7 separate regions of the Homo sapiens genome follow, and all the other regions are linked to region 3. The links are contacts of gene promoters, found by promoter capture Hi-C in blood cells and fetal thymus (Javierre and others, 2016). All regions are on one chromosome and are shown on one strand. Each heading gives the region's core, a stretch centred on a gene start or on the middle of the fragment in contact. The rest is flanking DNA. Distances are from core to core; before and after follow the strand shown.

The links. Contacts are between HindIII fragments. The CHiCAGO score rates a contact against its expected background, and 5 or more counts as called.
Region 1: a contact is called between a fragment that was not itself captured here and the fragment with the promoter of ATOSB in region 3, in 7 of 17 cell types (M2 macrophages, M1 macrophages, M0 macrophages and 4 more). The highest score is 9.9, in M2 macrophages.
Region 2: a contact is called between a fragment that was not itself captured here and the fragment with the promoter of ATOSB in region 3, in 9 of 17 cell types (M2 macrophages, megakaryocytes, M1 macrophages and 6 more). The highest score is 13.8, in M2 macrophages.
Region 4: a fragment that was not itself captured here is called in contact with the fragment with the promoter of ATOSB in region 3 in 1 of 17 cell types (M1 macrophages); the score reaches 5.8 in M1 macrophages.
Region 5: a contact is called between the fragment with the promoter of RUSC2 here and the fragment with the promoter of ATOSB in region 3, in 9 of 17 cell types (monocytes, megakaryocytes, M1 macrophages and 6 more). The highest score is 14.3, in monocytes.
Region 6: a contact is called between a fragment that was not itself captured here and the fragment with the promoter of ATOSB in region 3, in 2 of 17 cell types (M1 macrophages and M0 macrophages). The highest score is 5.7, in M1 macrophages.
Region 7: a fragment that was not itself captured here is called in contact with the fragment with the promoter of ATOSB in region 3 in 1 of 17 cell types (M2 macrophages); the score reaches 5.4 in M2 macrophages.

The regions. Positions count from the first base shown.
Region 1 is chr9:35,546,276-35,550,449 of GRCh38, forward strand. RUSC2 (RUN and SH3 domain containing 2) reads left to right here. Exons shown (of 12, transcript NM_014806.5): 2 at 155-2,260. The coding sequence starts at 247. Among named protein-coding and RNA genes, the nearest start is that of CIMIP2B, 16 kb to the right of the region's middle. The HindIII fragment of the contact is 7,783 bases long and covers 1-4,174 here.
Region 2 is chr9:35,466,714-35,470,717 of GRCh38, forward strand. It overlaps the pseudogene ATP8B5P. Among named protein-coding and RNA genes, the nearest start is that of RUSC2, 21 kb to the right of the region's middle. The HindIII fragment of the contact is 5,907 bases long and covers 1-4,004 here.
Region 3 is chr9:35,113,599-35,117,433 of GRCh38, forward strand. It overlaps ATOSB (atos homolog B), which reads right to left and starts at 2,264. Exons shown (of 9, transcript NM_025182.4): 1 at 2,207-2,264. RefSeq lists an enhancer at 246-1,075 and a silencer at 2,409-2,468. The HindIII fragment of the contact is 12,182 bases long and covers 1-3,835 here.
Region 4 is chr9:35,450,773-35,454,578 of GRCh38, forward strand. It overlaps the pseudogene ATP8B5P and the pseudogene ZFAND6P1. Among named protein-coding and RNA genes, the nearest start is that of RUSC2, 37 kb to the right of the region's middle. The HindIII fragment of the contact is 224 bases long and covers 1,812-2,035 here.
Region 5 is chr9:35,488,428-35,492,774 of GRCh38, forward strand. It overlaps RUSC2 (RUN and SH3 domain containing 2), which reads left to right and starts at 1,684. Exons shown (of 12, transcript NM_014806.5): 1 at 1,684-1,745. LOC105376026 (a long non-coding RNA gene) reads right to left here and starts at 3,200. Exons shown (of 2, transcript XR_929580.4): 1 at 3,004-3,200; 2 at 2,692-2,829. RefSeq lists a silencer at 1,353-1,652. The HindIII fragment of the contact is 5,552 bases long and covers 894-4,347 here.
Region 6 is chr9:35,573,620-35,577,998 of GRCh38, forward strand. No RefSeq gene overlaps it. Among named protein-coding and RNA genes, the nearest start is that of CIMIP2B, 12 kb to the left of the region's middle. The HindIII fragment of the contact is 7,332 bases long and covers 1-4,379 here.
Region 7 is chr9:35,409,549-35,413,391 of GRCh38, forward strand. It overlaps the pseudogene ATP8B5P. Among named protein-coding and RNA genes, the nearest start is that of RUSC2, 79 kb to the right of the region's middle. The HindIII fragment of the contact is 5,623 bases long and covers 1-3,843 here.

The DNA.
Region 1 (4,174 bases), core at 290-2,789, 430 kb after region 3:
CACCTGCCTATTGGGCTGTGTGGTCAAGCTCCATCTTGACTCAAGCCTTTTCTCTTCCTGGGCTCTTCTCCATCTGAAAATGATGTAGGGAAGGGCATGCCCCTGACTTCCAGGGAGGTGACATTAGGTTCCCTTTCTTTCCCTCTCTCTCCAGGTGCCAAGCTCTCCTGATGAAATGTGTTCTGCCCCACTGGGCTCCAGGGACAGTGTCTGGTGCTGTTGAAGCCCTTATTCGAACTTTCCAGAATGGATAGTCCCCCAAAGCTGACTGGAGAGACCCTCATCGTTCATCACATCCCCCTGGTGCACTGCCAAGTCCCAGACAGGCAGTGCTGTGGAGGGGCAGGTGGAGGTGGTGGGAGCACAAGACCTAATCCCTTCTGCCCACCTGAGCTGGGCATCACCCAGCCCGATCAAGACCTAGGACAAGCTGACTCCCTGCTATTCAGCAGCCTGCACTCTACTCCAGGAGGAACTGCACGGTCTATAGACAGCACCAAGAGTAGGAGTCGGGATGGAAGAGGCCCTGGAGCCCCCAAACGACACAACCCCTTCTTGCTGCAGGAGGGTGTGGGTGAGCCAGGACTTGGTGACCTGTATGATGACAGCATTGGTGACAGTGCCACCCAGCAGTCCTTCCACCTGCATGGCACTGGCCAGCCCAACTTTCATCTATCCTCTTTCCAGCTGCCACCATCTGGCCCCAGAGTGGGCAGGCCATGGGGGACAACACGCAGTCGGGCTGGAGTGGTGGAAGGGCAGGAACAGGAGCCAGTGATGACCTTGGATACTCAGCAGTGCGGCACCAGCCACTGCTGCCGGCCAGAGCTGGAAGCAGAGACTATGGAGCTGGATGAGTGTGGGGGACCTGGTGGGAGTGGCAGTGGGGGTGGAGCCAGCGATACCTCTGGCTTTTCCTTTGACCAGGAATGGAAGCTCAGTTCAGATGAATCCCCAAGGAACCCTGGATGCTCCGGCTCAGGGGACCAGCACTGCCGCTGCAGTAGCACATCCAGTCAGTCCGAGGCAGCTGACCAGTCCATGGGCTATGTGAGCGACTCCTCCTGCAACAGTTCAGATGGTGTGCTGGTCACCTTCAGCACCCTCTACAACAAGATGCATGGCACCCCCCGTGCCAATCTCAACTCTGCCCCACAGTCCTGCAGCGACTCTTCCTTCTGCAGCCACTCAGACCCTGGCGCCTTCTATCTGGATCTGCAGCCCTCCCCATTTGAGTCTAAGATGTCTTATGAGTCCCATCACCCTGAAAGTGGAGGAAGGGAAGGGGGCTATGGTTGCCCTCATGCCTCTTCTCCTGAGCTTGATGCCAACTGCAACTCCTACCGCCCACACTGTGAGCCGTGCCCAGCAGTGGCTGACCTCACAGCCTGCTTCCAAAGCCAGGCCCGTCTTGTTGTGGCCACACAAAATTACTATAAACTTGTCACCTGTGACCTATCTTCCCAATCATCCCCAAGCCCTGCTGGCTCTTCCATCACTAGCTGCTCTGAGGAACACACCAAGATAAGTCCCCCACCAGGCCCTGGCCCAGACCCAGGCCCCAGCCAGCCCTCTGAGTATTACCTATTCCAGAAGCCAGAAGTCCAGCCAGAGGAACAAGAAGCAGTGAGTTCCTCCACCCAAGCAGCAGCTGCTGTGGGCCCCACTGTGCTTGAGGGACAAGTATACACGAATACTTCACCCCCCAACCTCAGCACTGGACGTCAGCGCTCCCGCAGCTATGATCGCAGCCTGCAGCGCAGCCCTCCTGTCCGCCTGGGCTCGCTGGAACGTATGTTGAGTTGCCCAGTGCGCTTGAGTGAGGGCCCTGCAGCCATGGCCGGGCCTGGCTCCCCACCCAGGAGGGTCACCTCCTTTGCCGAGCTGGCCAAGGGCCGGAAGAAAACTGGAGGCTCTGGCTCGCCCCCACTTCGTGTGAGTGTTGGGGACTCCTCCCAGGAGTTCTCACCCATCCAAGAAGCCCAGCAAGATCGGGGGGCCCCACTGGATGAGGGCACTTGCTGTAGCCATAGCCTGCCACCCATGCCTTTGGGGCCAGGCATGGACCTACTTGGCCCAGACCCAAGTCCACCCTGGTCCACCCAGGTCTGTCAGGGACCCCACTCCAGTGAGATGCCTCCTGCTGGCCTCAGAGCTACTGGGCAAGGCCCCCTGGCTCAGCTGATGGATCCAGGGCCTGCTCTCCCAGGGAGCCCAGCCAACAGCCATACCCAGAGGGATGCAAGAGCTAGAGCTGACGGTAAGGAGCCTAAGGGTTAGCAAATATGTGGCTATTCACCAGCAGGATATGCATGGCCACCTCCCTGACAGGTCCCTGCCAGACCACCCCATCCATACCACTAGAGGTTCCACATCCTAGATCTGTTATCCTTCTAGGCCAGGGCAGGACCCACAGCTACAGTGGAATAGGCTCACTGGAGAAAGACAGAGGACTCAAAAATACACTGAGCAGACTGGGTGCAGTGACTCACACCTGTGATCCCAGCCCTTTGGGAGGCCAAGCCAGGCGAATCACTTGAGGTCAGGAGTTTGAGACCAGCCTGGCCAACATAATGAAACCCCAGCTCTACTAAAATAAAAAATAAACTAGCCAGGAGTGGTAGCACCCACCTGTAATCCCAGCTACTCAGGGGGCTGAGGCAGGAGAATTGCTTGAACCCAGGAGGTGGAGGTTGCACTGAGCTGAGATCATACCACTGCACTCCAGCCTGGGCAGACAGAGTGAGATTCTGTCTCAAAAAAAAAAAATAAATAAATACACTGAGGAGATAAAATCAGCAGGACTTAGAGGCTGACATATTGGGAAATGAAGGATTCAGAAGACTGATTCTGAACCTGGATGATGGGAAAGATGAGGCCATGGATAGGGGCTGTAATCACAGGAGATTTCCTGGAAGAAAAGTTCAGGTTCAGACCTTTAGGAGTTTGCAGTGCCTAAGGGGCAACCAAGGGATATGTCTAACAACAACAACACACACACACTGGGCGTCAGTGAAGTTTTTTTTTTTTTCTTTTTGAGACGGAGTCTTGCTCTTTCGCCCAGGCTGGAGTGCAGTGGCCTCCCTAGGCCAGCTCTTTCCCTATTTATTTTGTTACATTTTAAATAAATATTTTATACCAGTGTGTTAAGGTGGTGCTAGTGACAGAGAGATGAGAGGGATGACTCTGTTTTCAAGGATTCCAGCTAAGGACAGAAACAGAAAACGTAGTTGATCATTAAAATGCAGAGATGGCAGTGTTCCGTACTGGCCAGTGAAAGGGGTATGTAAATCAGACTGAAACGTCAGGGAGGAACTGCTAATGCAGTTACATTTAAGCCCAATCTAGAAAGATGATTAGGATTGGGCTTTGTGACGACTTGTAAGAAGAATGTTCTAGGCTCACAGGATTGTCTGTACAAAACCACAAAGGCACAGAATAGCTTGACCCTTTCTAGGAACTGCATATAATTTGGTGAAGCCATAGTGGAACACAGGTGGAACCACTGAAAAATTTTAGAGAAATGGCTTTTGGCATTTGTTTGTTTTTGTTTGGTTTGGTTTTTCTGTCTGCTTAATTATATGTTTTGATTTGCATTTAGAAAGATCACTGGTTGGTTGTTCCTTCAGGCCTTGTTTAAAAAAAAAGTAATTGGGCTGGGCACAGTGGCTTACACCTGTAATCCCAGCACTTTGGGAGGCCAAGGCGGGCGGATCACCTCAGGTCAGGTTTTCAAGACCAGCCTGGCCAACATGGTAAAACCCCATCTCTACTAATAATACAAAAATTAGCTAGGCATGGTGGCGCATGCCTGTAATCCCAGCTACTCTGGAGGCTGAGGCAGGAGAATCACTTGAATCTGGGATGGAGATTGCAGTGAGCCGAGATCACGCCACTGCACTCCAGCCTGGGCAACAAGAGCGAAACTCCACCTCAAAAAAAAAAAAAAAGTAATTGGATCACTGGTTGTTTGGGTAGAAGATGGACTGGAAGGGGTGTCTTCCTGAAGTCAGGAGAAAGCACTGTGTAGATTGGAAAGTCATTGGAATAAAAGTGGTAGCTGGCACTTGCTGGGCGTGGTGACTCATACCTATAGTCCCAGCACTTTAGGAGACTGAGGCAGGCAGATCACCTGAGTTCGGGAGTTCAAGACCAGCCTGGCCAACATGGTGAA
Region 2 (4,004 bases), core at 1,066-3,565, 350 kb after region 3:
CTTTATGTGTGTTAATAATTAAATGTTAAATAATCAAAAATAGAGGGCATCAGATTAATCTGGAACTATGAGTAGTATAGTTGTATTAGTCAAAATAAGATAACCAAAATAAAAAAACAGCCTTAAAATCTCAGTGACATGTGACAATACAATGAAGGTTGTTGTGGGGAGGGGCAGCTTGCTCCACCAATAACTCAGGAACACTCTTTCTAGCTAATGGCCCCACCAACCTCTTGGATTTCAGGATCTTCTACTGGATTCCCTGCATTCAACCAGCAGATGGGGAAAAAGAGAGAATAGGAAGACTCACACATGATTTTTTTTCTTTTCTTTTTTTTTTTTTTTGAGACGGAGTCTCGCTCTGTTGCCCAGGCTGGAGTGCAGTGGAGCGATCTTGAATCACTGCAACTTCTGCCTCCTGGGTTCAAGCGATTCTCCTGCCTCAGCCTTGAGGACTGAGTAGCTGGGACTACTGGTGTGTGCCACCACACCCCGCTAATTTTTGTATTTTTAGTAGAGATGGGGTTTCACCGTGTTGGCCAGGATGGTCTCAATCTCTTGACCTCATGATCTGCCCACCTCGGCCTCCCAAAGTGTTGGGATTACAGGCGTGAGCTGCTGCACCCGGCCACACATAATAGATTTTTAGGGCCAAGCGTGTAAGTAGCATAATCACTTCCACCAGCATTGCATTGGCTAGAACAGAGTTACATGACCCATATAACTGCAAGAGAGCTTGGGAAATGTGCTCTAGATATGTGCTCAGAAGGAAAAGAAAATAGAATTTAATGAATACATATCATTATCGCTGCCACAATCTACCCTTCTGATCATCATACCATTTCACTTTTCCTCCCACATATGGAACACCCTCATCATCTCCCCCAAATCCTACCCAGTCTCTGCATCCAACTCAGAGTCCAAGATCTCTCACTGATGCACAGTCCTCTCCATCAGATCTAAATGAAGTTCCTCTTGGTCTGGAGATGTGAGAGGATCTCCTTTATTCATTGCTCTCAGTGATTTCTGGCTCCACTCCTGAGAAGTTTTCCCTCATTCTTTATCCTTGCTGACCAACCCTGAAGTGGATGTTGGGGAGTATGCTCTTCTTAGGGACTGCAGTTTTTATAACCTGCTTCCTGCCCAGTGTGGTTTTAAGGATTTCCAAACAGTCACAGGCTTTTTTAGACCAGGCTCATAGTTATCTAGTAATACCATTCCTTCAAAACCCATAAGGCTTCTCATCTGTTTGCTTCCAATTAGTTTCATGTATCAGTAACCCCCTGCCCCCCAAAATTCTTTCCTAGACGTAGTTTTTGAGTTTATCCTGTTTCTTTGCTTCCTTGCCCCTCCATGCCCTTCTCTCTCAACTTACTGGCAAGAAAGTTGAGGCTATGCGGAATAATAGTCATGGGTAAGAAGGTATCACCTTTAACCTGAACTTTGCCCGAAGGCTGAGTCACTTTATTCAGTTGAAAACAATTATTGGGCCTTTTTTGCTTAAGGTCTCAATCTTATCTCTTCCTGTTTAGTGTCTAGAAGTCGTAGTTCTTTGATGCCCCAAATTTCTGTACCTCCTTATTTCTGCCTACAAATTGGCTAATTCTTTCCCTAGTTTAACTTTAAAAAAAATTTTTTAGTACAGATGAGGTCTCAGTATGTTGCCCAGGCTGGTCTCAAATTCCTGGCCCCAAGCAATCCTCCTGTCTGGTCTTTCCAAAATCCTGGGATGGCAGGCATGAGTGACTGCACCCAACCAACTCTTTCTTTTAATACCTGTCAAAGGCAGTCAATACACAATGATATTTTGATTCTTTTTAACCACTTCTCTTAGAGCTGCAGGTTCAGTAGGCATATGGTCTACCTTTCAGTTTTATCAAATTCTTTCATGTTAACATGACTACCATATTTTCAGCCTTTTATATCAGTTTCCTTATCACCCACCCCCTAACTGCTAAGCCCCACACGTTTTAGACTTCTGTTAAAGCAGCTTCAATAATGGAATGATTACGTGCTTGGGTTCTGGAACTGGTTCAAAACCTGTTTCTTCTACTCAGTAGCTAAGTGACTTTAGACAAAATTCTTTCTCACTCTTAAGTTCCTCATCTATTATTAAAAGAGGATTATTGTAAATATTAAATAATATGTATAAATACTTAGCATAGTACCTAGCACTTGGTTAGTTATTACTATGTTTTATTACTATTATCTCCCTTGAAAATCCCAAGGAGGGCTTCTGCTGGACTTTCTTTTCTGTCCTATGTACTGCTGCCTAGAGACTGTGAACTATAGGGCCTCCCTGCCCTCCTAGGAGAGGGACGCTTTGCTGAGAGATAAGGCTCTAGACTGTAGAACTGAAGCAGCACATATGTTGGATAAAATGTTAATTTAATTCTTTTTTTTTTCATGTATCGATTTTCCTGGTTTTAGGCATCGTGTGTTTTGTCCTAGCAGTTGGGCATGGCATTTGGCAGAACAAGAAATGCTACCACTTCCAGATTTTTCTGCCATGGGTAAAATATGTCTCTTCATCAGCTGTCTCTGCCATCCTCATATTCTGGTCCTACTTCATTATTCTCAATACCATGGTGCCCATTTCCCTCTATGTCAGGTAGGCTTCTTTGATCACTTTGGGGTGTGGGGGAGGAGCTGACTTCATACTGTCTACTTAATTCCCCAACCAGAGTGTGAACTTTTAAAAAGCATACACTTGTGCTCTTTAACCCCTCACTCTCCACAGTAGGTGGTGTACAAAATGCTCTGAGATATATCTAGAGGTTGCATAAATGCCTTCCATGTCCAGAATACTGTGCTAGGAAGACACTATGTGGTTTATACAAAAAGACAGTTATCCCTGCCCTCAAATAACTTATAAAGTAAGTGGCTAAATAAGACATAAAAACACATGAAATAACTAGAAAACATACACACAAATTTGGTGATGCTTAAAGCATGGGTAGTTTCCCCAGGAAGATAGGCCAGGCAGCCCATAGTTTACCAATGAGATAGGTCCAAACATTCACTTGTAAGTCAATTAATCAGAATTCAGAATCCATTTTCCCACACAAACAGTGTGACAGATGGTAGATAGGTGTAATTGTGACCTAAGTTCAACTCCTAAAAGTTGTGGAAGAGAAGAGGAAGGGTTTCCCTTCCTCTTTTTCATAAGCACCTTGAATGAAAATTTGAAATAGCTGAAAAAAGTATTTACCCTACTCTGATCATCCTTTTCTGGGTTCTGCATTTCCTTACACATACACACACCCAAACACATTTTAGTTTCCTCCTTTCCAGGCTTTCTAAACCCTGTACCGGGGCTTTTTGGCAATAAAAAAAAAAGGACCCTATGTAACTAGATTACCTTATTTAGTAATATTTATTGAGTATCTACTATGTGCTAAGGTTTAGAGAGATTGCTATGGTGGCTGATATGGTAAAGGATGGGAGGGGTCCCAACTCCAGGCATAGAGATTATCAGTAATGAGTCAATGATGAGGACCTGAGCACCTCCTTCCTCACCTCAAAGGAAAAAATCCCCATCTGTCAGTGCAGCTGTCTCAGACAGGGATTACTAATAATCACTCTTATAATAAAGCAGACTAACACACATTAAGTATGAATGATGATAAGAAGGAGACCCCTTAAAAGTCTTCACTGTTTTAAAATGAACATGCTTGTTAGCCATAAAGAATCTATAATGGACGCTATTTGGAGCAGAAGAGGAGTATGACAGAGGCAATAGGGAAAACTTATATAAAATGAGAAGAGGTTGTTGTGGGAGGAGACACACCACAGGCAGGCTGGCTCTGCCTGGAAATTTATCAGAGGGTCAGCCCATAAACTATTCCTGATTTTCATAGCTTCTTTCCTTCTTCTGAAATAAACTCTGAGTGTGTCAAGGTTCTCTGTCTTCCCCATGTGACAGGAGCAATAATCCTCCAATTGGGCCAACACAGCCTTTTATAAGTTAACTGTTACTCTATCACACCTTGCATTACTGCAGA
Region 3 (3,835 bases), core at 1,014-3,513:
GGGTGACAGAGTGAGTGAGACTCCGTCTCAAAAATAAATAAATAAATAAATAAATAAATAAATAAATAAATAAATAAAGAGGCCTTACCTTCCTGCCCTAAATTTATCCTGCTTTATTTTTTTTTATATAGCGGTTATCACTACTTGACTTCTCCCTCCCCCTCCACAATTTCTTTCTCCCCTTAATAGAATGGAAGCTCCATGAGAGCAGCAACTTTGTTTCGTTCATGCTCATATTCCCAGAGCCAACATTAGTCCCTGGCAATGTTCAATAAACATTGACTGAAGAAAACAACAGGCCCTGGGCTGAGTGAACAGCAATCCGGCGATCTGGATCCTATCTTCTGCCCTTTCACTGTGACATCTGGGGAATCACAGTCTCTTTAGCCATAAATTTCCAAACCTGTAAAATGAGGTGTTTGTATAAACAATGACTGCTGAGGGCCTCTGCAGCTCTACAATTCTAATGACTGTTGTTCACTCATCTCCATATCAGAGGATAGCTCCAGGCATTCGAATGCTCTGCTGCCTGTACCAAAGCAGAAAGGCTATATCCTCCAGTCTCAGCACAGCAAACTGATGCCCTTTCTCTTCATGCCCCACCCACTCACACAAACCGCCCCAGTCCTGAGGAAGCTGGAGAGTCTGCCCTAGGCCCGCCCTCTCTGAGAGACTGTCTGGGAAGCAGTGTTGCCATAGCAATCAGCTCCTCCTCAAAAGGCTTCAGCCTGCCCTTTTTTACCCCACCCTACCCCAGGGCTTTGTCTGTCCTCAGCAGACCCACCCCCCTCCCCAGCCAGTCTCTCAGCTCCTGGGTGGTTGTGTGAGGAGGCTGGCTTGGGGCCCCTTTTAGCAACACTGTCACACTCATTTAGCCACTGTGTGGAACTCAAGCCTTTCCCACCCTCTCCCAGCCAGCCCAGGGGCAAAAAGAACTCTAGCACTCCATCAAATCCCCTCAGGGAAGCAGAGGAGCCCTCAAGAGAACTAGGTCCTAGCCTGTTCTGATAGTGCTTCCAAGCCTGGAGTGTGGGGAGCCACTCCCTCTTCCTCCCCTAGCTGTGGCTGGAACCTCACAACCCTTACTGGGTTCAGCTTACAGTCGTGGCCCACCTCTCAAAACAGACAGAAGACCCTCAATACTCCTCACCACTTCCCCCCTCCCACAGAAGCCCTAGCGTTCCCTACCCAGAAGGATAAGGGTGGGGAAAATCTGTTTGTGGCAAGTGGTTAAATGTGGCTACCAGTCACTTGGGGATCTATGCGAGAGACCTGGGTGGTAGTGGTGGGGGTGGGGTCTGAGCCCTGCCGCTGGTTACCAGGGTCTCTGGTCATTGATAACAAAGTACCGGGCAGGGCACAGCTCCTAGATGGGCAAGGGCCAGGCCAGGCCCTGGGGCAAGGAAGGAAGTGGGAAATGAGCACACCCAGAGCATAAGGGCAGGGCGGGGGAGGGGGGAGACAGAGACCAAGGCCGGCTCTGGGAGGAACAGGAACTAGGATGGGGGGTTGACAGGAACCCAGCGGGGGAAGGGTCCCCCGGGACCTCAGCTTAGGGAAGAAACCCCAGTCTCAGCTGGACAGATCCAAAATAGACTGAGGAGACATTCACACAAGCCCTAGTGACAAGCAGGGTCTGACTCCTCTCTGAGTGCCCAGGCCAGAAGGCGGAGTTAAAAGCTGAGCAGACAGGAGTGCAATAGATTGGCCTCTTCACCCCACTAACCCCAACACCCTTGCTCTTAGAACCCAGAACACAAGTGTCTTCCTGTAGTTACTACAATGCCCTAAACTGTTACTTTGTCAAAGTACTGGGGGTTCTGTTCTCCTGCCTCAAGTTGGGCCTACAACCCCTTCCCCTAGATAGTGCCCGCAGACCCTCCGACACCGCTACACTCCTTCTCCATTAAACAGCCCCCCTTCCTTCAAAGCACCTCCATGTCCCCTGCCCCTCATGTACCTCCTCCAACCCCCCACATCAGACAGAGACAGCCCCCTCACAATGTACCTCGCAACCCCCCCACAACAAAGCGCTCCCGCCCTTCCCCCATAGAGGCCTCTGGAGAATGCACCTTGTTGCCCACACATTGAGTCCCCAACTGCTCCCGCGACTTCGTATCTTCCCTCAACACACAGCAGTCTCCAGATCGTCTGCAAAGCGCACCCCCATCCGCGTCCCTTCTTCCACGCTCACCCTGCCCCACACCTGTAGTTCCGTGGGTCCCGTTGCACTTGGGGACGTGGTAGTGGTTGGGGCAGTTACTGAGCAGCCCTAGCTGTAGCCTCCGCCTGCAAACCTCGCCCCTTCAGTCTGAGCCCCGCCCCCGCAACGCCCGGGCCCACCCTCTCCCTTGTCCCACCTTCCACCTTCTGTGGACTTGTCCCTTTCCTCGTTTAATTTCTCGAGCTCCTCCCCTGTAGCCCGGGCCCCGCCCCCTTCTGACCTCGCACCTCCTTCGCGTTTTCTTTGCATTTCCCCAGGATCCTCAGCTTTTCCCAGGCCCCACCCCCGATCCCCGCCTCCTCTCGGTCTCTCCGCCTTTCACCAGGACCCGCCCCCTCGGATTCCAGCCTGGCAGAAGTCGCGCCAAGACCCTTCCACCACGATCCCCCTCCCATCTCAGAGCCCCTCCTCCTTCCGCCCCTTCTCCCTCACGCCTCACCCGGGCGGTCGCACTCCAACCAGGATCCGCTGGCTCTGATTGGCGGTGGCGGCCCCAAAGGAGGAAGGAGGAGACAAAGTGATGGTCGCAGGTCGCCTGAGGTCCCACCCCGGCCACGTGCGGCTTCTGTGATGACAAGTCTAGAGGGGCGGGGCCTCGGCCGGCAGGCTGCTAGCCTGAGCGGAGCGGATCAGGGCAGAGGTGGGGAGATGGAGCCAGGGCCAAAGCCACCAGCCTGAGGGCTCTGAGCCGGGTTGGGGCTATCTCGCTGCTTTCGCACCGGTGTGAGCTGCCGCCGGAACTCTAACCTCTTTGTAGGGATGTCTGGGTGGGCGCGTGCATTTGCACTAATAGGGGAGGTCCGTAGGGATTGCAAGGTAGTGCAAGGAATCTCAGGGGTCTGTGAAAATGAGGGAATCTGGGCGGTGGGGTTCAGGTCTGCGAGGTTGAGCAGTTTCTGAAGCCTACGCTGTGCAGGCGGGTGTGGGTTCTGGGATGGGATGGACAGTAGGAGTCAGATCAGTACCTACTGAGGCAGGTCAGCGAGATCTGTGAATTTTACGAGATGAGTGTTGATATGGAGTTAGGAGGGCCTGCAATTGCTGGAGAAAAGTGAGGCCTTTCCCTTGTACAGGTGTCTAATGAACTGCATGACAGTTACATATGTTCTGCAGTTTAAGCGGCGCCCTCTCCAACCTCTCCCCAGGAGATACAATAAGGGAGGGCGACGCTTCCCAGACACCGGTAGATGGCAGCACAGGACACTTGCAGAACTGAGACAGCCCAGCTCAGCGCCGATCTGTGGCCTCTCCGAGGAGCGGACCGTTTGGGTCTGGATTTGATCAAGTTCTACAAAAGTCACATTCTTTTTTATTTTTTTTTGAGACGGCGTCTCGCTCTTTCGCCCAAACTGGAGTGCAGTGGTGCGATCTCGGCTCACTGCAACCTCCGCCTACTGGGTTCAAGCAATTCTCCTGCCTCAGCCTTCAGAGTAGCTGGGATTACAAGCGCGCGCCACCAGGCCGGGCTAATTTTCGTATTTTTGGTAGAGACAGGTTTCACCATGTTGGCCAGGCTGGTCTCAAATTCCTGACCTCAAGCGATCCGCCCGCCTCGGCTGCCCAAAGTGTTGGGATTACTGGCGTGAGCCACAGCACCCGGCCAAATCTCAG
Region 4 (3,806 bases), core at 674-3,173, 340 kb after region 3:
ATCGGTAACTGAATGTATCTTAATCATTATGGCTGCTTCTGTTTTTTCATTAACAAAGGTTATTCATATGTTAGCATATAGTTTCTTTGCACCCACTATTTATGTCTGAATCATTTGTCACGAGAGTGTGTGCTGATGAGATTCTAAGTTTGTGTGTTTAAACTTTTTTTTGAGCGAGGGAAGAAAAAGCTGTATGCATTTCATTGCTGTCTACAGGTTTCTTTCAGATTATGTTCATGGGTTTGTGTGTATACGATATGAAGAATGATCTGAAGTAATTGTGCTGTATTTATGTTTATTCACCAGTCTTTGATTAAATAAAAAGGAAAACCAGAAAAAAAAAGTCTCAAGCAGTCTTAGGATCCCAGAGATTAAGATCTGAGGCAGAAAAGAACAGACAAATTACAAGAGAGTCTAGCTTACGCCTGTTAGGAAGAATAGTCACAAAGTGTTTAAAAAGATATCATGCTTTGATTAGTGGTACAAGAATGGATCAAGGACCCAGTTTAGAAATTAAGACATATTTTTATTTTCTCATAATCAGTTTTACTCATGACCACTTTAATAAAACCTTACTTAGACTAATAGAACACCTTGTTTGAACTGATGATTTTCAAACTCTTTTCTTAGAGGAGTCTTAAGGTCTGGTGCAGTGGGAATAGGGAAGATCAAGTGGATTTTATTCTATCCTCCTCATTTTGAAGTTCTTGCTTTAAAAAGAACAGCTTCATGTTTATCTATTTTATGAAATTTCAGTTGTAAAAATAGAAGGGGGTTCTATTAAGAAGTGAAATTTGAAAAGCACTGCAATATATAATAATCAGCTTTGATAATAGATGTTTAAATTGAAGACTAGTTAATAAATTATTTCTATGCTGTCTGATATAAGCTGCCTTTATTCTTATTAGTTATAGACAGATTAATTTCCTCTCTTAAACAGCTTCTTTGCATAGCTGAGCAGTTCCTGTAATGCCTACACTTGATCTCATAACTTTTCATGTTTATTTTTACTCTATTATTTAGACTCTGAAAACTCAAAAAAAAACCTTTTCTTTGTACACTCTTATCATTAATATCTGAATTATAAACTGCCTTTTTTCTTTATTATGGGAAACATCCCAGATCCTTTTCAAAATCCTTTGGATCTAGCAAAAGGGGTTTTAGAAAATTAGGAAGGTTCATTCAGCTCAGAATCTAGTATTCGTTCATTATACTTCTCTTTCTATTATGGAGTAAGTAGTTTTCAGCAGTTGATCAAAGTTCCATTTCCTAGTTTCTTAATGAAGAAGACAATCATGGTCAAGAATTAAGGAAGGTAACATGGGCAAATATGCTTTTGACAACATTAGCAACATACATCATTAGACAGTAAGCTAGGTCATTTAGCCTAGGCTTGTCTTCAAAACAGGATGTCTTCAAATGGGTGTGATGGCACACACCTGTAATCCCAGCAGGTTGGGAGGCCGAGGCAGGAGGATTGTTCAAGCCTGGAAGTTTGAGAGCAGCCTGGGAAACAGTGAGACCCCATCTCTATAAAAAACAACAACGAAACACAAAAACACAGGTGGAACAAGATGGCTGAATAGAAGTCTTTATTAATCACCCCCCCCACACACACTCCCACAAAAACACCAAATTTAACAACTATCCACATATAAAAGTACCTTCATAAGAAACAAAAATGAGTCGAACAATCACAATACCTGGTTTTAACATCATATCACCAAAAGAAGCATTGAAGACAATCTTGAATTGCTGATGCCACCATTCCCCCATCTCCTGGTGGCCATGCATGGTGCAGAGAACTTGTAAGCTTTGGGGAGGGAGAGCACAGCAATTGTGGAACCCTGCATTGAACTCAGTGCTGTTCTGTCATAGTGGAAAGCAAAACCAAGCTGAACTCTGCTGACACCCACCCATAGAGGGAGCATTTAGACCAACCCTAGCCAGAAGGGAATCGCCCATCCCAGCAGTCAGAACTTCAGTTTCGTCAAGCCTCACCACCTTGGGCTAAAGTGCTCTGGGGTCCTAAACAAGCTTGAAAGCAGTCTAGGCCACAAAGACTGCCATTCCTAGGCAAGCCCTAGTGCTGTACTGAGCTCAGAGCCAGTGGACATAGGGGGTCGGGGTGGGTGCACACAACCTAGTGAAACACCAGCCAGAGCAGAGAAGGGAGTGCTAATGCTACCCCTCCCACAACCCCAGGCAGCACAGCTTGCAGTAACAAAAGTGACTCCTTTCTTCTGCATGAGGAGATGGAAGAGTAAAGAGGCCTTTGTCTTGCAAATTGGAGACCAGGTCAGCCACAGTACCATAGGGCAGTGGACAGAGTCACGAGGCCCCCATTCTAGGCCCTAGCTCCCAGACAGCATATCTAGATACACCCTGGACCAGAAGGAAACCTGCTGCCTTCAAAGGAAGGACCCAGTCCTGGCAGGTTCATCACCTGCTGACTAAAGAGCCCTTGGGCCCTAAAGAACCAGCAACGATACCCAGGTAGTACATTGTGAGCCTTAGGTGAGACTGTAGAGTGGCAGCATCTAGACGTGCTGGCTTCAGGTGAGACCCAGCACATTCCCAGCCGTGGTGGCTATGGTGAGAGACTTCTGTTTGAGAAAAACAGAGGGAAAGGTAAAAAGGACTTTGTCTTACAGCTTAGGTACCAACTCAGCCACAGTGGGGTAGAACATCACGTGGGTCCTTGGTGCCCCTGATTCCAGCCTTGGCTCTTGGATGGCATTTCTGGACCTGCCTTGAGCCAGATGGGAGCCCACTTCCCTGAAGGGTGAGTCCCATGACTGACAGTATTCAACACAAGCTGATTAAGCCCTTGGGCCTTAAGTGAACATTGGTGGTAGCCTGGCAGTACCCTCTATAGGTCTTTGATGGTGGCCATGGGCACTGGCTCCTTTGCCTGTGGAAATGGGAGGGAAGAGTGGGAAGGACTTTGTCTTATGGTTTAAGGGTCAGCTCAGCCATAGTAGAATACAGTACCAGGTAGACTTCTAAGGTTTTTGACTTCAGTCCCTGGCTCCCAGGCTGCATCTCCGGACACCCCAGGGGCTGAGGAAATTTGCTGCACTAAAGGAAAGGACATAAGCCTGGCTGGCTTCACCATCTGCTGATTGTGGAACCCTGGGGCTTGAAGTGAACATAGGCAGTTGCCAGGTAGTGGTCACAGCGGGCCTTGGATGAGACCCAGTGCTGTGCTGACTTCAGGTGTGACTCAGCACAGTCCCAGTGGTGGTAGCCTCAGAGTTGCTTGTGTCACCCCACACACAGCTCTAGGTGGCTTGGCACAGAGATAGACTAAATCTGTTAGGGAGAAAGGAAAGAGAACAAGAGTTTCTGCCTGGTAATCCAGAGAATTCTTCCAGATTTATTCAAGACCACCAAGGTGATACTTCTATGAGTCTGCAAGAACTGCAGCATTATTGGGCTCTGGGTGCCCTCTAATGCAGATATGGCTTAGATCACAACACCCAAGTCCTTTCACATACCTGTAAAGCCTTCCCAAGAAAGATAGGTAAAAAGAAGCCCAGGCTGCAAAGACTATACAAACAATTAATAACTAACTCTTCAATGCCCAGACACCAACAAACATCCATAAGCATCAAGACCATTCAGGAAAACATGACCTCACCAAACAAACTAAATAAGGCACCAGGGACCAATCATGGAGAAACTGAGATATGTCACCTTTCAGACAGATAATTCAAAATAGCTGTTTTGAAGAAACGCAAAGAAATTCAAGATAACAGGAAGGAATTCAGAATTATATCACATAAATTTAACAAAGAGGCTGA
Region 5 (4,347 bases), core at 434-2,933, 370 kb after region 3:
CGTTTTGAACAAAGAATTGGACAAAACGCCCAGCAAAGCAAAGAAAGAATGAAGGAACAAAAGAAGGAAAGCAGGGATGTATTGAAAACGAAAGCACACTCCACAGTGTGGGAGCAGCCGGAGCAGCGGCTCAAGGGCCAGGAAACAGAATCTTCTTGGGTCCAAATACCCCCTAGAAGTTACCCGCCACTTCATGCTCACCTCATGTAAATGAATTCGTAGCCTGCAATCAGTCTGATTGGTTGCAGAAAGCAGCCAAGCAGAGGCTGAAGTGAAGTTACAAAGGTCGCACACCTGTGCAAACATCTGATTGGTTGCAAGAAGCAACCAATCAGAGGCTAGGGTGAAGTTACAAAGTTATACTTCTATGCAAAGTTAGACTCGGCTGCAGTCAGTCTAATTGGTTGCAGATAGCCAATTTCCCATCTGCTGGGCAGAAAAGTTGGGTGGGGGGTTTGTTACTTAGGTGTGGAAAGTTAGGGTTTTCCTTTCAATTTAGTTCCAGGAAGTTGGCATGAACCAGTCTTAGGTTCCCTGCCTCCAGTCCCTATTCTCCTGCCTCAGAACCATCACCCAACATCCCTAGTGGGTAGCAGGGGAGAACCCTCTCCTGCCCCGCTCATGCCTAACTACCTGTAACAGTTTGGCTGTGTCCCCACCCAAAATCTCATCTTGAATTGTAATTCCCATAATCCCCCTGTGTCAAGGGCGGGAACAGGTGGAGGTAATTGGATGATGGGGCTGGTTTCCCCTGCGCCCTTCTCGTGACAGTGAGTGAGTCCCACAAGATCTGATGATTTTATAAGCGTCTGGCATTTCCCTTGCCTGCACTCACTCTGTCCTGCCACCCTGCGAAAAGGATGGCTACTTCTTTGCCTTTTGCCATGATTATAAGCTTCCTGAGGCCTCGCCAACAATGCGGAACTGTGAGTCAGACCTCTTTCCTTCATAGTATTTCTTCATAGCAGTGTCAGAACGGACTAATACAGTGGGTTTCCCATAACATTTGCAGGACTGCCTGCCCCATCCCCCTCTGGCTGTAAACAGCAGGAGTCACACACAGGCATCTTCCATGTCCCCCACACATCCGGCCCTGAAGGGCAGGGGGCGCATGGGTTCTACGTTTCATCAGGGGTTCCGAACCCTGGCTATGCACTGGAGGCCAACCCCACCTCACCCCACCCCACTCCACCCCAGTGGTTCTGAGTCGGTCCAGTGTGAGGTCAGCCCTCCTTCTGTTGTTTGGTTAGTTTCCACACTAGGTTCTACTGGGAAGCCAGCGTTGAGAACCGCCGCCTCAGGCGAAGCTGGGACTCACACCCACCGGCCCTGGAGGCCCGCGGAAGGTTTCCCTGGGTTCCAGCACCCGGGAGCCGCGCGTCGCCAGGCACCACCCCGCGGGGGCGGGCGCGGGCCGCAGAAGATTGGGCCACGGCGGAAGCCTCTCCGCTCCCTTAGCGGGAAAGCTCTGCGCGTGACTCGGCTGCGCCCATCGCTGCGGGAGCCGGGGAGGGGGCGAGCACCTTAGGCCGGGCGGACCGAACCAACGCGCCGCCCGGAGGGGCGGCCTGAGGGCAACCCAGATCGGACCATCGCGCCACGCCGACAGGGGCCGGCCTTTCCAACCCGCCCGGAGGGAGGGGCCGCCGGCGCCTCTAGCCTGCAACGCGACCCCTGGAGGGCGAGACACGCCGCCGCCGCCGCCGCCGCCGGCGCGGAAGGACGAGGCTGAGGCGAGAAACGAGGTAGGAACGCCTCTCCGGAGGCGGGCAGGGTCCCACAGACCCACTGCCCCGCGTTCCAAGGTCTCCCTTAGGGGAGGGCCTGTCTTCCCACCTATGTGCCTTCAGCGCCTGCCCTTCCCTTCAGCCCTTCCCCCTCGGCTGCACCCGCCCTCTGCGTCCGCCCCGACCCCCTGGGCAGACCTCGTCCCCAGCCCTTCTGACCCTTGGCCTTCTCCTGACCCTTCAGCTCTGCGTCCACCGGACCTTCAAACACCCAGCACCCACCGTCCCTTTGGGCGCCACCCCAGATGCATCCCCAACCGTCTCCTCAAACTGCCCCCTTGGGGACACCCTCCCCCCACAAAACGACTCGCGCCCAGTAGTCACCTTGGTACCCCAAGTCCCTGTGACGGCTTTGGGGAAGCGTGGCCGCCCGGCACCCAGGCCGGCGACTGCAGCGGGGGCCTCCCTACTGCCAGTTCCCGGCCGGGTCCTCTGCTCCCTCCACCCTTTTAGCCCCTGCCTCCCTTTATTATCCGCCCGGCGCCGGCGTTGCTTCAGTCTCTGTCTCTCTGTCATCCAGTTTTACCTGGAGAAAACCTTTGGCTTGGCAGTAACCGTCCCCTACTACTGCACTCACTTGCCGCGAAGGGCACGGTGATCCTGTTGCCCACAGTTGGCTGTGGCCCTCCAGGCCGGCCCTGCGGACACGGGGAACTGTCCTGGGGGCAAGGACGGTACACTACTCATCTTTGTATCCCCGGTCCCCAGCACGGTGCCTGGCACATGGTAGTGTTGCTGGTGGAGGGTCTTCACTACCAGTTGTCCTTTGCGTTTTGAACAAGTAATTGAGCAGCGGAGGAATGAAACGCAGGAACAAGTAGATCTGAGTCAGGCAAGGATTACCACTATGTGAACAGTGTCCGTGATAAAGAACACAGGCCTTAAAAAAAAAAAAAAGGCGGAATTTACAAAGGACAAAGGGCCTGAAACCTGTTTTTATTTATTCCTAGGTGGGTGACCTGAGCAGATTTAGTTTCCTGGGGGTTTGGGTTCCACGCGGAAGCAGGTGGTATCGCTGAGGGATGAAACAATGGCTGGAAAGCTGTAGGAGTTGATAAGGTAGAAAGTAGTTACCTAATTAGTAGTGGCATTATTGTAACTGGGGCTCAAAGTATTAGCAAATAAAAGTAGTGACTGGATTTTCTTAGCCGGCTCCTTAGATATTAAGCAGTGGTGGATGGCTTAATGGAAGGAAGAGCAGATCCAAACAGTATACCTGGTATTCTGTTAGTTATGCCCGTCCTGCTGTATGGCCAGCCACTGTTTCTCTTCTGTTTTGAGCCAGGTTAGGATCCCTCTGATTTCTGTGCTGGTATTTAAGATTCCTTTTTGAAGCCACAGTTGCCTTAACTGGAGGCTGGACATGTTCTCATTCATCCATTGCTAGTTTTGATGTATCCTTTTCCGCTTTCTGTCTCCCACCCTCTTACATGTCTTTATAAAGTCTTGGATCAGGCCAGGCACAGTGGCTCAGCCTGTAATCCCGGCACTTTGGGAGGCCCAGGTGGGCGGATCACTAGAGGTCAGAAGTTCAAGATCAGCCTGGCCAACATGGTGAAACCCCATCTCTACTAAAAATACAAAAATTACCGGGCATGGTGGTGTGCACATGTAGTCCCAGCAACTCAGGAGGCTGAAGTCCCAGCAACTCAGGAGGCTGAGGCAGGAGAACCCCTTGAACCTGGGAGGCAGATGTTGCAGTGAGCTGAGATCATGCCACTGCACTCCAGCCTGGGTGACAGAGCAATGCTCTGTCTCAAAATAAAGCCTTGGATCATAGAAACCCAGTGTGGGGAGGGGCTCCTGATCTGGATGGATTAAGCAATACAATTTTTTTTTAACAGTATCTTTTTAATGGCCTTTTCTACTTTTTCCTGTCTAGGCTTCCTGTTAAGACCTCAGTTACCCCAGAACACCCTGGGTTATTTTTCTCCTCACCTCCAATACTTCAGTGTTGCCAGATAAAACGCAGAGTGCCCAGTTAAATTTGAATTTCAAATAAACAACAGGGAGTCCTGTATTTTTACTTGCTAAATCTGGCAAGTTCATGGGAGGGCTTATGTGTTCTATTTTTCTCTCTGGGCTTATCTGCAAATTTAGGATAATAACTCACCCTTTTCTTCCTGTTACTCATACACAATGACTATGCACCCTGCTAAAAGTCACTTGACTGAAGAGATGGTTCACTTCATGTTAGGGTAAGGGCAGGCTATCTAGAAATGGTCTTGATTGATCAGTGTTGAAGTTACCCAGGAAAAAAAAAAAACACCCATTCAGACATTGGCATTTAATATAATTTTTGTCAAATGAGTCCGTCATACGAAACGAGAGCATCATTTTGAGTAGCCAGATGTCAACATTGCTCTGATAGAGCTAGGTGATGGGGTAGAAGGGAATCCTAACAACAACAAAATAACTCAGCAGAACCTGTGCTGTACCATATTTACTCTTTATGGTGGTAATATATATATATATAACATAGAATTTACCATTGTAATAATTCTTAAGTGGCATTAAATATATTCACATTATTGTACAACCATTACTGATAACAATCTCC
Region 6 (4,379 bases), core at 74-2,573, 460 kb after region 3:
CTTGAGCCCAGGGGTTCAAGACCAGCCTAGGCAAGACGGGGAGACCCCCCTCTCTACAAAAATAAAAAATAAAATTTAAAAAATTAATTTAATTAAAATTAATTATCTGGACTAATTAGCCAGGCAAGGTGGTACACACCTGTAGTCCCAGCTACTCAGGAGGCTGAGGTGGGAGGACCGTTTGAGCCCAGGAGTTTGAGGCTGTAAGTGAGCTATGATCACACCGCCACACTGCAGTCTGGGTGACAGAGACCCGGTCTCTATAAAAATAAAAAGTTTAAAAAATGATAAAAATAAAATATTTTTTCATATCAATGTTATAAAGTAACAACAGTGAGTGAAACATCATTTGAGAACCTGCTGTACAACTTTCTGTATGTCAATAAAGTGATTTTTTAAAAAGGGAAATCATCAGAGGCCAAAAACTAGGCAAAGGATAGAAGGCACTTTTGGCTTAATGGCATTGGCCAAGCCACACAAACTTGGAGGTTCATTTTCACAGGTTCATGAAGTACTGAGAAAAGGAGATAAAACTCAGTGACCACCCAAGATGGAGAGTCTAACAGAAAATTTTTCCTGCATAAAACTGGCATGCATCAAGTTATGTCCCTTTAGTCTTTTTTTTCTTTTTCTTTGAGATGGAGTCTCATTCGGTCACCCAGGCTGGAGGGCAGTGGTGCAATCTCGGCTCACTGCAACCTCCGCCTCCTGGGTTCAAGCAATTCTCATGCTTCAGCCACCTCAGTAGCTGGGATTACAGGCGCCGCCACTACACCCAGCTAATTTTTGTATTTACTTTAGTAGAGACTAACTTTCACCATGTTGGCCAGGCTGGTCTCAAACTCCTGACCTCAAGTGACCCGCCTGTCTTGGCCTCCCAAAGTGCTGGGATTATACACATGAGTCACCGCACCCCACCTTGCCCCTAGAAATCCATCTGCCCCCCAAATCCTTCCTCAGGGGACTACAAAGAAAATTGCCTATCTCAAAACTTGGTACCAAGTGAAAAAGGGGGACATATTTCCCCTAAAACTTCATAACTACAAGCTGGCTCATGCGTGATTTGCAGATGGAATTCACTCTACCTGAGTAGTCTGAAATACTATCAAGATAATGAGGTAGGAGGTGGGACTGGACTCCAGAGGCAGGGCTCAGCAGCGGACCAAATTGAGGACTAGCTAAAACAGGGATGGGGCAGAAGTGGTTTTCCATATGACATGGCCACCAGTGTGCTATGTCAGTTTACCATTGCCATGACAACACCCAGAAGTTACCACCCCTTTCCACAGCAATGACCCAATGAACTGGAAGTTACCACCCTTTACATACAGAAATTACTGCATAGTCCACCCCTTAATTTGCATGTAGTTAAAAGTGGGTATAAATCTGAATGCAGCACTGCCTCTGAGCTGCTGCTCTGAGCATACAGCCTATAGGACAGCCCTGCTCCACAAGGACCAGTACCTCTGCAGGTTTATTAGGATCTTGGAAGAGCATAATGGGAAAAGAAAGATGTACTCTGTTACCAAATTTTTTAAGTATACACTGCTGCTTCAATAAAAGTTGCTGTCTAACACCACTGGCTCATCCTTGGATTTTCTTTCCTGGGCAAAGCTAAGAACCTCCCAAGGCTAAGCCCCAATTTGGGGGCTCACCTGCCCTCCCATCATCTGGTGATCAATGAAAGGAAAAAGATAATGAGCAAGAGGCAGCAAGTCAGTGGAGACAGTGGCAGTCAGCAGACAGGTGAGATGGTGGGACAGCAGAGACGGTGGCAATCAGCGGTCAGTGGAGAGGTGACGACTATGAGAGACAGCAACTGGGAAGACAGTGAGAGACTGACAAGACCAAGCAGAGACAGCGAGAGACCGCAAAGCGGTCTGTGATCAAGGCTGCAAGAGCTATAACACTGAGGCTGTAACAATAAAGAGCTGCTAACACTAACCAAAGGCTCTTTTCAGAGCCATCATTTTCCCTGGCAGGCGGCAGGGCCAAGCAGACACACTAATGGCCATAATGTCACTGCCTCATGTGAGCTCTGACCATGGCAGGCCAGTGGGTTACCAGTCCCTATGCTTGCCCCCTGTGTGACAGCTGAGCCCACCCAAGCTGGGGGGTCCTGGAGGGACCTTCACCAGGGTCCCACATGAAAGACTGGCTGGTGCCATTTGGCTCCTATGGATGGGTAAGTGTCCCTTCTTCCCCTACTCCATAACATCTAGTGAGCTGGGGAATAAAAAGCCTTCGGCTAAGTGGTTAAAAGTCCCCCACAGTATGAGTGCCCTGAGGCACATCCTTGTGACCTCTCCCCCCTGTGCTTTCTTCTCTGACTCCATATTATTGTTCCACCAATCATTTTATTTTTATTTCGAGTCCAAAAATTTACGTTTCATTTGAAGCGTTATGTTTCCTTTTGACTTTCTGTTAACTGTGTTTGAGCAATTGTTTAAGGCTGGATGTTTAGTTGTGCTCTGTTGCGTCAACTCTGGGACACCAGAGTCACATTGTTCTATGACCCCAACTTGGTCTTGGGTTCACTGTTGGCCACTCCCTTGGTGCCCCCAGGTTTTTGGCATTTGGTGAGGGGACCCTCATTGGCTGAAACAGGCACTCTGGGTTTCCAGCATTGGTATGATAGGCCACTCCCAGATGCTCTGGGGTTTTCAGGATTGACATTCCCTCTAGGATTATAGGTTATAGCCCCACCCACTACGGGAATATTGGTATCAACTTTTTCTGCCCTGAAGTTAGAAGTTATTGTTTTCCTGACAGCCAGTTGCAAGCCCCTTACCGTATTCTGTCTTAGAACTGCTTTGCTCAAGCCCCTCTACATCAAACGGACCAGGAGTTCCCAGGCCCCTGGCCTGATGGACAACCACTCAACAGCGGTAGACGAGTGGCCACCTGAACATTATTATTATTATTTTTTTTTTTTTGGTGTCTCCACTACTGGGAAGGGTCTCTGGCAAGTCAGGGCCTCTGCGGTCTCTCCTCAGGCAACGCTGCTTATCCCCTTCCCTTCCTCTCTTCCACAGTCTCCATGTGTTTAGCCGCCTTCTCTGAACAACCCTCACTCTGTGGAATTTAAGCTCAACATTCTACTGCCCTTTTGTGGCTTGTAATCCACTTTTGTAATGCCTTCTTACCTATACTTAAACCTTCTCTACAGGGAGTGGGAATCTAAAAGGGAAAAATAACAAGGGCCTAGTTACTTTCCCTCTTGCTTAGAAAAATTTGTGCGCATAAAAATCCTTGTTAATCATGGGGACAATGATGAGTATTCCAGATAACTCACCATTAGGACGCCCTTCAGGCTAATTCAGCTTAAAGAAAAATTCATTTTCTATTGCAAAACCGTTTGGGTTCAATACAAACTATAAAACCAACAGATATGGCCTAAACATGGTTTTATATGCTATGATATTTTACAGTTGGACTTTTTCTGTAAAAAAGAAGGAAAATCGGAAGAGGTCCCTTATGTACAGTAAAGGGCTATTATGACCCTTTACTGGCTCACATTAGTTAAGGCACCAGAAAGCCACATCTAAGGGATCTCCTCCTAGCTGCTCCCCCTAGAAGGTCTATGCCCTCCCTGGAATCTCCTCAGTCTCCCAATTGTGAGGCGGGTCCCACCAGTTCTCTAACAAAGGACTCCACCCCAAGGTCATCAGGCACCTCTCCCCCTTTTCCAATTAGCCTCAGCCTATACCCCCAACTGCCCAAGAAAGTATGCCCAACCAGTACCACCAGGAGTGGGACTGCCCCTAAAGTCAAACTGTGTCCATTGTGGGAGGTAGCCCATGGAAATGGGGGGGACACCTGGAGTGCATGTGCCATTTTTTATGTCTAATTTGGCTTTATACAAGGAGAACTTTGGCCAGTTTTCAGAGGAGTTTAAGTTGACCACATTCTTTGATTTAATTTGTCATGACTTGCAAGTATTGTCATCTGCTTGTTGTGCCATGGGGAAAAAAAGTGGAGAAAAAAGTATGTGGTTAAGCCAGCTAAAGATGACAAGGTTAGAAAAATAACTCAGCGAAAAGATAAAAATCCCACTCTGCTTCAGGGTCATTTTGTTGACGCACTCAGGAAATATACTAATGCAGATTCAGACTCCCCAGAAGGGCAAGCTCTCCTGCGTTACATTTTATTACTCTATCTGCCCCTGACATTAGCAGGAAGCTACAGAAAGCAGCAATGGGACCTCAAATCCCTATGAGCCAACTCAAATTCGGCCTTTAAAGTTTACGACAATAGGGATGAAGCAAAAGAGGTTAAAAAAAAAAAAGAAAAAAAGAAAGAGCCAAAAAGTGCAATTGTTAACAGTTACTTTAAGCCCCCTGCCATCTCAGAATTACCCATCCCAAGAAAGCGTTGCG
Region 7 (3,843 bases), core at 1,291-3,790, 300 kb after region 3:
CTTGAGGCCAGGAGTTCAAGACTAGCTTGGCCAACATGGCAAAACCTGTCTCTACTAAAAATAAAATAAATAAATAAATAAATAAATAAATAAATAAATAAATAAATTAGCCAGGCATGGTGACACATGCCTATAGTCCCAGCTACTTGGGAGGTTGAGGGACAAGAATCGCGTGAGCCTGGGAGGTGGTGGTTGCAGTGAGCCAAGATTGTGCTATTGCAGTCCAACCTGGGTGACAGAGGGAAACTCTATCTTAAAAAAAAAAAAAATCCTAAAGGGAGCAGGAATAATCACACTCCAGCCATCTTTCAGAATGGAACTGCCTGTTATGTAAGAACAACAACAACAAATTATTTCTAATGTGAAATTTTGAAAAAGGAAGATTTAGATTTAGGCTTCCTTTTGAGGAATGGAGAAAGTGCAGAATGAAATCAGTTCACTGATTGAAGGTCACAGTGTACTTTCTTTCTTTTTTTTTTTTTTTAGTAACACGGAGTCTCGCTCCGTTGCCCAGGCTGGAGTGCAGTGGCGCGATCTGGGCTCACTGCAAGCTCCGCTTCGCAGGTTCACGCCATTCTCCTGCCTCAGCCTCCCAAGTAGCTGGGACTACAGGTGCCCGCCACCACACCTGGCTAATTTTTTGTATTTTTTTTTAGTAGAGACGGGGTTCCACTGCGTTAGCCAGTATGTTCTCCAGCTGACCTCGTGATCCACCCGCCTTGGCCTCCCAAAGTGCTGGGATTATAGGCGAGTATACTTTCTTTACTTGCTGTCATTGGGCAGTTGTCCGATTTCATCCTGGAGGAAGCCCATGTCAAGGACACTGGCCCTGGTTCCAGAAGTAGAAAGTCAGGAAACTTCCATCCAAAGGAAAACCAGGGAGTCCTCTGCTACCCTCAGGAGAGCTAAAGGGCTAAAGGACCCAGAAGATAATCAACTGCTCTGCATATTCTTATGAACAGAAAATATGGAGAGCCAGAATACTTTAGGGTGTGGTAAGTTCCAGGCAAATGAAAAATGTAATAATCATCAATAAAGACTGATCAATTCATTCGACAAATATTTATTGATTATTAAATAAGTGCGAGCCACTGTGCTAGGTATGGCAATACAATGGCAACAAAACTAGACAGAATTTCTGCTCTTAGCGAGATTATGGTTTAGCGAGGGGAAACATTAATTAACAGCATATTTAATAGCACCAATAAATATAAAATATCTGCCATAAATGCAGTGAAATAAATACCATATGGGAAGTATAGTAGTCAAGAGCATGAATTCTGGAGTCATACCGTCTAGGTTTGAATCCTAGCTCCACCACTTACCACGTTATCTTGGGCAAATCTCTTAATTTCTCTGCTACAGTTCCTCCTCTGTAAAATGGGGATAATAATAAAAGTGCTGCCACATAAGGTTGCTGTAAGGATTAAATTAGGTAATATTTATAAAGCATTTAGGACAGTATCTGCCACATGATAAACACTGGTAAATGTGTAAAAAATAATCAAAATAATCTATAAGAGCTTGACACTTTCAATCAGAAAGATAATTAAGAACTTCATCTATAAATGTGTGTTATTTCAAAAGCCAAACCTTTTACCAAGGAAAAAGAGTTGAAACCAGTTTTCCTGGTAAATCCCTACAGGTAGGCTAGGACTACCTATTGCAGGTAGATTTACTGCTTCTGCTATTTTGAGCAGTAAGCAATTAATACTGGTTTACCCAAGATTTTGGCCTATTCCACTGAATTTACAAAACGACAGTGCTAAACCCAATCATTTGGCAGGTAACACTATTTTGAATATTCAGAATCTTCAGGCCTATTCTGGTTGGAAAATCTACAGTACATAAATACTGGCCAGTTCTAACATCTTGGTTGTCTACCCTCTCCTTTCTATTTTCTTTTCTTTTTCTTTCTTTCTTTTTTTTTTTTTTTTGACAGAGTCTTGCTCTGTTGCCCAGGCTGGAGTGCAGTGGCACGATCTCAGCTCACAGCAACCTCCACCTCCTGGTTCAAGTGATTCTCATGCCTCAGCCTCCCAAGAAGCTGGGATTACAGGCATGCACCACCATGCCCAGCTAATTTTCGTATTTTTAGTAGAGACGGGGTTTCGCCATATTGGCCAGGCCGGTCTTGAACTCCTGACCTCAAATGGTCCACTCGCCTTGGCCTCCCAAAGTTCTGGGATTACAAGCGTGAGCCACCATGCCGGGCCTCTCCTTTCTATTTTCTACCACTTCTTAGTTCAGCCTTTCATCATTTTAAGTGTTGACTATTATAGCCGTCTTTTAAGTGGTCTTTCTGTCTGCACTCCGTTCCCCTGTAAATCTATCATATTAATGTTTCTGAACTTCCAGTTTATCACATTTTCCCCTACTCAAAATCTTTGTAGGATTCTCTGAGATAAAGTTTAATATCATTATCCTAATATTAAAGTCCTGACTTGAAGTTCTTGTTTTCTGCCTCCTTCAGATTTTCGTACTTACTGTACTATCATACAACTTGTCTAGTCTCAATGCCAACCCTTTCATTAAGTCCTTTTTCCTGCCTACAGAACTGTCCCCTGCATCTCTACCTAATTAACCTGTGTTCGTCTCTTGAGTTTAGTGCAAGTCCTTCTCCATGAAGCTCTTTCCAACAATTCTGCCCTGCCCCCCTTTATCTCTCCTTCTTGAATTCCTGTAGTGCTTGGGTTCTACAGTGTTTGTTTGTTTGAGACAGAGTTTCACTCTGTTGCCCAGGCTGGAGTGAAGTGGTGTGACCTTGGCTCATTGCAACTTGAGGCTCATTGGTTGAGCCTCCTGGGCTCAAGTGATCCTCCCACCTCAGCCTCCCAACTAGCTGGGGCTAAAGGCACATGCCACCACACCCAGCTAATTTTTGTACTTTTTTATAGAGATGGGATCTCACTATGTTGCCCAGGCTGGTCTCAAACTTCTGGGCTCAAGTGATCCACCCACTTGAGTGGGAGGCCACTCAAGTGGCCTCCCAAAGTGCTGGGATTACAGGTGTGAGCCACCATGCCTGGCCCAGTTTTTTAAAATAATAGCCTTATTGAGATACAATTAACATGTCACAAAATACACCCTTTTAAAGCATGTAATTCAGTGATTTTTAATATATTCAGAGTTTTGAAACCATGACCATAACTTAATTGTAGAACATTGTCATCATCCCAGAAAGAAACCCTATACCCGTTAGCATTCACTCTCAGTTCTTTCCTCTGCTCTCCTATACCCTGGCAACCACTAATGGATTTTTCTGGACTTGACATATAAATAGAATCATATAAAATGTGGCCTTTTGTTACTAGCTTCCTTCACTTATGTTTTCAAGGCCCATCCTTATTGTAGTATGTATCCTTTTTATGGCGGAATACTATTCCAGTGTTTGGATATACCACAATTTGCTTATCTCTTCATCAGGTGATAGACATTTGAATTGTTTCCATTTTTTTGGGTATTATGAGTAATGTTGCGGTAAACATGTGTAAAAGTTTTTGTGTGGACATACAATTTTAATTATCTTGGGTCTCTACAATTCATTTAACATCTTATGTACACCCTGCCTTGACATGCTTTGCTGTTTTACATCTATGTTGTGTGATTCCATTAGATTGTCTGCCTAGCATAGTGCCTTCAGAGTTCTCTCTGTCCTAGAGAGTTTGCAAGACTGTCCCATTATTATATTTCTCCTTTCCCTTTCCTTTACCTTCCACACACTTCTGTAAATACCATCTTCATCACCACCACCACCACCACAAGACAACAATAAAAATTATCAACAGTTATCAAAAGGTAGCTTAATAATACTAGGTAGTAATTCAAAAGGTTGGAGTAAAT